Regions from separate parts of the Homo sapiens genome. Here region 2 is linked to region 1. The links are contacts of gene promoters, found by promoter capture Hi-C in blood cells and fetal thymus (Javierre and others, 2016). All regions are on one chromosome and are shown on one strand. The core of a region is centred on a gene start or on the middle of the fragment in contact, and the rest is flanking DNA. Distances in the headings are between cores, read along the strand shown.

Region 1 (4,000 bases), core at 1,438-3,937:
AGCAGCCTGGGTAACATACTGAGACCCCAGTTTCTTCTTAAAAAAAAAAAAAAGAAAAGAGAGCATGAGTAAAGCATAAGTAGATTCTGCAGAAACACGACTAGAGATAGGATTGAAGTTCAACACTTAGTGGATAGGTCTTCAGCAGATTAGCCATAGCTGAAGAGAGAAGTAGGACTTGTAAATAGAAATAAAGCAATTTATTCAGGAAGCACGAGAGTCAAACACATCTATTTGAGTTCTGGAAGGAGGAGAGAGAGTCTGAGAACTTTCATAACTGAGAAAGAGTGGTCCACAGTGCAAGGGCCCTGACTGACCCCAGCCTGGATGAAGACCCCACTGCCTGCATGTAGGGTGGCTTTTAGCATCCAAATAAATAGTGATAGTCATGGGTCATCACTCGAGTAAAATAAAATCTATGAGTCTATATACCTATCTCCATATATTTCATGTTATTTATTTATGTTAAATAAATGCATAGAGAGAAGTAAAGCATGGGAGGAATGATGGGGTCAGAGTCATGAGCGGGTGCTCAGACTAGTTTCAGAGCATCCCTGTAAACCATGCAGCCATTGCAGACGTAAGTCGTAGCTGTGGTGGGAAAGCTGGCAGGTGCCTCCTTAACCCAGCGATCCATCTTCACATCATCAGGCTCGGGACAGACCTCCCCTTTGAGCCTCCTGATGCAGTGAGCAGGTCTGTGGTGTTCTTCCAACAGTTCATAGCCTGACTCTACTCATGAGAAAACAGCAGACACTCATGGAGAGACAGCCTACGTTAATACCTGACCCACAAGCTCCAAAAACGTCAAGGTGAAGAAAAACACAGACAGGCTGAGAAGCTGCTCCGTCTTTTTTTTTTTTTTTTTTTTTTGAGATGGAGTCTTCCTCTGTTGCCCAGACTGGAGTGCAATGGCGCGATCTTGGCTCACCGCAACCTCCGCTTCCTGGGTTCAAGTGATTCTCTTGCCTCAGCCTCCTGAGTAGCTGGGACTACGGGCACCCACCACCATGCCTGGCTGATTTTTGTATTTTTAGTAGAGATGGGGTTTTGCCATGTTGGCCAGGCTGAGCCCGAACTCCTGACCTCAGGTGACCTGCCCGCCTTGGCCTCCCAAAGTGCTGGGATTACAGGCGTGAGCCACCGCGCCCGGCCTGCTGCAGTCTTAATGGGGACAAAAGCCGAAGAGCAAGGCAGCTGCATGCTCCACAGTCTTGGGCTGGATCCTGCATCAGAAAAAAATGTAGGCTGGGCATGGTGACTCACGCCTGTAATCCCAGCACTTTGGGAGGCCGAGGCGGGTGAATCACCTGAGGTCAGGAGTTCGAGACCAGCGCAGCCAACATGGTGAAACCCCATCTCTGCGACAAATACAAAAAAATTGGCCAGGCATGGTGGCATGTGCCTGTACTCCCAGCTACTCGGGAGGCTGAGGCAAGAGAATCTCTTGAACCCGGGAGGCGGAGGTTGCAGTGAGCCCAAGATTGCACCAGTGCACTCCAGCCTGGACGACAGAGTGAGACTCCATCTCAAAAAAAAAAATTTTTTTTTTGCAATAAAGGCTATCATTGGAACAATTCATGAATTTGACTATGGACAATGGATTAGAGAATAATGTATGAATGATAATTTCCTGATGCGAGTTGTTCTGTGGCTGCGTAAGAGAAGCTTGTTCTTAGGAAATATACACAAGTGTTGAGGGCCCAGGGGCCCGACGTCTCTGCTTCACTCTCAGTAGCTGCACGTGCACAGGTCTAGGCGGGGGCAAGGGGGCAGACGGGAGCAGGCAGTGAGTCCGGAACGCACGTGTGAGAGCTCCCTGGACTATCCTGGCAATTACCCTGTGAGTTTGAAATTGTATTAGAATTAGAAGTTGGAAACACGAAAGAAATGTACCATAGGTGACATCATAATGAAATTCCAGAAGGACGGGGACAGAGAAGATCCTCAGTCTAGCCAGGAGGAGAGACGGATCGCTCAGTAGCAAGAATCCCGCCGGCCGTGAGCTCCCGAAAGCAGCGCAGGAGCAGAGGTGGCAGCGCCAGAGCCTCACTGTGTGGCGAGTGACGACACCGTGAGGTCGTCTTTGAAATTATGCTGGAAGAAAGACGTTTCCAGAAAAAGACACGAGTTTGCCACCAGCAGATCATGATGGAAGGATGTTCTAAATATGCATTGCAGGCGGAGATAGGAGGCCTCCAGATGGAAGCGCTGTGCTGTGAGGAGGTGTGAAGAGTCGGGGAAACGTGGGTCACCCGACCAGTCCTGTCTATTCAGCATCGAGAGAGACGCCCTGGAGGGCCTCAGAGATGAGAGCAGGGCCACGTGGCTGTGGTCTGGAGGGTCAGGAGCGGGCCGAGTTAGCTCCGGGGGGTCAGGAGCGGCCACGTTAGCTCCGGGGGGTCAGGAGCGGGCCGCGTTAGCGCTGGAGGGTCAGGAGCGGCTGCGTTAGCTCTGGGGGGTCAGGAGTGGCCGCGTTAGCTCTGGGCTCTGGCAGCTCTGGTAAGCGTGACATGCTGAAGCTCCTGGAGCCACTCATGAGAGTACAGCATGTAGCTTCCTAGCTGGGAGAGGAAAACCTGGGGTGAGAAGAGTAACAAAGGTGAAAGCAAGAAAGGAAAGAGGCAGGCCTAGGAGGGGCAGGGAGGTGAGGCTGGCTGAGCCCAGAGCCCTAGGTAGGATCAGGCCCTTTGGGTGCAGTTGAGTTTCCTAGGTGTGAGCCACGTTGGGTAGAAGTGATGGCCGGAAGCAGCCTCAGTCACAGCCAGTGCAGCCTTCCTGCCAGGCTCCGACAGTGGCCAGAGAATCTTCTGGATTCCACCTTCTGGACTTCTATGGGATCTCCCTGATCAGCCGCATGAGGGAGAGCCAGAGACTGGCTGGGCTTAGTGTTCCCGTCTGTGGCACAGGGGTCATGAGAGGGTGGGCTCAGGGATTGGGAACATCACTTCCTTCAGCAAGCTAGACTTGGGCACGGCCCGGGGGTGGAGGCGGCCCCCGTACTCGGGCCTCCTGGGTCCAGCTGCAGAGACCTCGTGACTCCTCCATCCCCAGCCTGCTTGTTTTCTAAGTAAATGCAGTTTTATTCCAGTTTTTGGTTTCAATAATTGCTTGTGTAACAAGATTGAACAGGATATTTTACCTTCTCAGTTTCTCTGAGCTCCCACATGGGTGAAATTAGCAAGCAGGAGGGTTCCCCTGGCTTAGAAACAGATGAGTGTGTGTGTGTGTGTGTGTGTGTGTGTGTCAGAGTGAGAGCAGGTGCCGGTGTTTGCTGCACGGGGCAAGGTGGTGTCAGGAGGGACCTGAGGAAGGTGGCGTTCACAGCTCCACCCATGTGCTGGCATCTGTTGCCATCTGCGATGTAACGTATGCAATAACGTGTATTTATAAAATACATTGCACAGAAGCAGTTTGCTTAGTCTGCCTGGAGGAAGAGAAGGCCACACACCTTCTACCTGGTGTGGTCAGCCCAGCCCTGTCTAGCCCCAGGCACACAGCAGCTCTGCCCCCTCAGGGCTGGAGGAGACACCACTCCCCACTGCAGCCACCGTGCCTGTGGGTCATGTCCTTGTTTTACCTGAATGCTCTGTAGGAGGCCTGCACCGGTCAGAGCCGTGCCGTGGCGCTTTTCCTGCCTTGCGCGCCTGACTCAGGGTCGGATGGGAGATGGGGGCACCCTATGTGGTGTCCCGGCCAAGCTTGACCCACATGACTGTGTCCCCCACAGTACGACGAGCATGTAATCAGCCCAAAGGAATTTGTGCACCTGGCCGGGAAGTCCACCCTGAAGGACTGGAAGAGAGCCATCCGCATGAACGGCATCATGCTCAGGTGGGCGCTGGCGCAGGGTCAGCCTCCCTGCTGGAAGGGGCCCTGGCAGCTCTTGCTTTCTTGTGGGGTTTTGGGATTTTGAAGATGAGGCGTATTTTAGATGTGGTGAGTGCTGACAACCTCCCGGGTGGCTGCTGCACCTGCTCACACCCAAAACTGTAAACCC
Region 2 (3,623 bases), core at 367-2,866, 210 kb before region 1:
CCATTCTGGCCTGGCCTTGAAATCTTTTCTCAGAGTTAAGCACGTGTCTTTTAAGTCCTTTCCAGAAATCTTTAAAATTGTATCATTGAGTTAAGCCACACTGGCCACCACACGGCTAACTTCGTAAGGGAGAAGAGGGGAGAGGAAGGGAGGTCGCGGAGCTCCTGCTGTCTCCCGGAGTCCTCTCCACCTGCTGGGCTCTGGCAGGTTTGCTGAGGACCGCGTGAGGGCGCTGCTGTCTTCTGGGCTCAGGGCTCCTGTGAGCTCCTGAGGCCTGGACCCAGGGGTGGCCTTTGTTGCTCCCTTGGGCATAATATGGGGGGACACAGGCAAGATGTGGGGCCACCACCCCAGCAGGCCTGTGCCGAACCCCAGGACCCCATTCCTGGAATAGACGCGGCCATGAGGACTGGACGCGCTGGGCGTGGCCCACGGCGGGGCCCCCAGGGCTGCGCCCCCAGGGCTGCTGACCTTGCCCCCCTTGGCTCCACCGAGTCTGCACCTTTAGTGCCCACTTCGGCCAAGCCCATGGCGAAGTGCCCCAGGCGCTGCGGTCCCTGCGAAGGGGAACGTGGAAGGCGAACGTGGAGAGCCCCTTGAGTGCCTCTGCAGCACCGGAGCACCGAGCCGCCAGCTCCCAGGTCTTACCTCATGAATCATGGAGTTTTCTTTCTTTTTTTTTTTTCTTTTTCTTTTTTTTTTTTTTTTTTTTTTTGAAGCGGAGTCTCGCTCTGCCGCCCAGGCTGGAGTGCAGTGGCGCCATCTCGGCTCACCGCAAGCTCCGCCCCCCGGGTTCCCGCCATTCTCCTGCCTCAGCCTCCCGAGTAGCTGGGACTGCAGGCGCCCCCACCACGCCCGGCTAATTTTTTTTTGTATTTTTTAGTAGAGACGGGGTTTCACCATGTTAGCCAGGATGGTCTTGATCTCCTGACCTCACCATCCGCCCGCCTCGGCCTCCCAAAGTGCTGGGATTACAGGCGTGAGCCACCGCGCCTGCTGGTTTTATTTCTTAAGGCGGCCTTGGCGCCTGTCCTGGCCGAGCGCTGGACCGAGGAGGGCCTTCTCTGGGGGAGGCTCTGTCCGCCTCCCACCCACGCTGGAGGAGCTCAGGTCTCATGGGGAGGCAGGACTCGCTTAGGGGCGGGAGGTCACACTGCCCCGGAGCCCAGGCCCTGCCCTAGGAGGAAGAGCCTGGCTTCCCCCTTCCCTCCCGCCGGGCCCGGGGCTGAGACTCCTTGTGGGTCCGGATGACCCTGTCCGTGACCTCCGCCCTGGCCCCGCTTCCGCCCCACGCCCCCCTGAAGCCCCGGGCTCCGTGGCGTCTGCCTTCCGGGCCCTCCCCTGCGCTCAGCCCCCGGGGCAAGGGCTGGGAAGGATGGCTTGACTGGCCTACAGGGTACAGGGGACCCCTGACAGGTTCATCGCTGGGGCCCCATGGGCCCCCCCTCCGTCTGTGCCGTGCGGATGTGGAGACTGAGGACTCCTCCATCGAAGGCGGCCGGTGGTGAAATCCAGTAATCTGGGTGGGGTCCTTACCGCGCTGTCCGCGGGGTTTCCTCACTGCTCAGGCGGCTGCTGCTCATCCACGCCACCTCCGTCGGTCCGTTCAGCTTCCGTGAGTGTCCCCTGTGGGAAGGTCCGTTCAGCTTCCGTGAGTGTCCCCTGTGGGAAGGTCCGTTCAGCTTCCGTGAGTGTCCCCTGTGGGAAGGTCCGTTCAGCTTCCGTGAGTGTCTCCTGTGGGAAGGTCCGTTCAGCTTCCGTGAGTGTCCCCTGTGGGAAGGGCCTGTGCCGCACAAGGTGGGGACTTGGGCACACGGCCTCGGAGGCCAGACACCGGGCGAGCCCCGCTCTGGGAGTGAGACCCGCTCGGAGGGGGAGCGAGCCCTGAGGCGCCGCCTGTAAGCCAGACCCGCTGCCTCACACAGACGGGTGCTTCGCTTGTTTTGGCCTAGTACAGCTTTTAAGCAAAAAGTAACTGGTTAGGGATTCTATCATATTGCTTGATGTAAACAAATGCGGCAAAATGTTAAAAAATGGAGTAGCTGAAGGCCGGGCGCGGTGGCTCACACCTGTAGTCCCAACACTTTGGGAGGCCGAGGCGGGCAGATTGCTTGAGGCCAGGAGTTCGAGACCAGCCTGGCCAACATGGTGAAACCCCGTTCCTACTAAAAATGCAAAAATTAGCCAGGTATGCTGGCGTGCGCCTGTAGTCCGAGATACTGGGGAGGCTGAGGTGGGAGAATCACTCGAACTCGGGAGGTAGAAGTTGCAGTGAGCCAAGATGGCGCCACTGCACTCCAGCCTGGGTGACAGAGCGAGACCAAACTGACTCAAGAAGAAACAGAAAATCTGAATAGACCTATAACAAATAAAGAATCAGTAGTCAAAAAACTTCCAATGAAAGAAAAGTTCAGAAACTTTCACTACAGTTATTGTACTTTTTAGCTTCCAAAAAGAAAAGTCAATTTCAATAAAGAAATTGAATCAATAGTCAATAAACTTCCAACAAAAGAAAAGTCCATCTCTGTCTCTCTCTATATATGTATATGATTGTATATATCACTTCACTGTTGAATTCTATCAAACATTTTAAGAATTAACACCAATCCTGGCCAGGCGTGGTGGCTCACGCCTGTAATCCCAGCACTTTGGGAGGCCGAGGCAGGTGCATCATGAGGTCAGGAGATCGCGACTATCCTGGCTAACACGGTGAAACCCCGTCTCTACTAAAAATACAAAAAATTAGCCGGGTGTGGTGGCGGGCGCTGGTAGTCCCAGCTACTCAGGAGGCTGAGGCAGGAGAATGGCGTGAACCTGGGAGGCGGAGCTTGCAGTGAGCCGAGATGGCGCCACTGCACTCCATCCTGGCCGACAGAGCGAGACTCCATCTCAAAAAAAAAAACCAAAACAAAACAATTAGCTGGGCGTGGTGGTGGGCGCCTGTAGTCCCAGCTACATGGGAGGCTGAGGCAGGAGAATCGCTTGAACGTGGGAGGTGGAGGTTTTAGTGAGCCAAGGTCGCACCGTTGCACTCCAGCCTGGGTGACAGAGCCAGATTCCATCTCAAAAAAAGAGAAAGATTCCATCATATTCCTTGAGAGCATAGTGTTGCCTTTATTTTAAGCAGGTATTACAACCTTCTTATTTAGGTTCTATTTTTTTTGAAGTTACCATTTCAGGTCAGAGTTAGCCATAGCAGTATCTCAGATTTAAAATGTACACAAATAGTTTTCTTGCCTTGTTAAGCTGATTAGCTTTCTTTTCTTTCTTTTTTTTTTTTTTTTGAGATGGAGTTTCACTGTTGTTGCCTGGGCTGGAGTGCAGTGATATGTTCTCGGCTCACTGCAACCTCTGCCTCTCGGGTTCAAGCAATTTTCCTGCATCAGCCTCCCGAGTAGCTGGGATTACAGGCACCCGTCACCATGCCAGGCTAATTTTTTTTTTTAACTTTTAGTAGAGACGGGGTTTCACTATGTTGGCCAGGTTGGTCTCGAACTCCTGACCTCAGGTGATCCGCTCGTCTCAGCCTCCCAAAATGCTGGGATTACAGGCGTGAGCCACCTTTCCCAGCCAGCTGATTAGCTTTCTGAGAAAATTATAATATTTTTAAAAGTTGGGGCCGG

What was found. Contacts are between HindIII fragments. The CHiCAGO score rates a contact against its expected background, and 5 or more counts as called.
Region 2: the fragment with the promoter of ZBTB46-AS1 here is called in contact with a fragment that was not itself captured in region 1 in 1 of 17 cell types (monocytes); the score reaches 5.3 in monocytes.

The regions. Positions count from the first base shown.
Region 1 is chr20:63,597,591-63,601,590 of GRCh38, reverse strand. GMEB2 (glucocorticoid modulatory element binding protein 2) reads left to right here. Exons shown (of 10, transcript NM_012384.5): 5 at 3,731-3,834. Among named protein-coding and RNA genes, the nearest start is that of HELZ2, 25 kb to the right of the region's middle. RefSeq lists an enhancer at 3,616-3,785. The HindIII fragment of the contact is 2,033 bases long and covers 1,671-3,703 here.
Region 2 is chr20:63,806,069-63,809,691 of GRCh38, reverse strand. It overlaps ZBTB46-AS1 (ZBTB46 antisense RNA 1), which reads right to left and starts at 1,616. Exons shown (of 3, transcript NR_110081.1): 1 at 1,537-1,616. The region is part of intron 1 of ZBTB46 (zinc finger and BTB domain containing 46); the gene reads left to right. The HindIII fragment of the contact is 29,160 bases long and covers 1-3,623 here.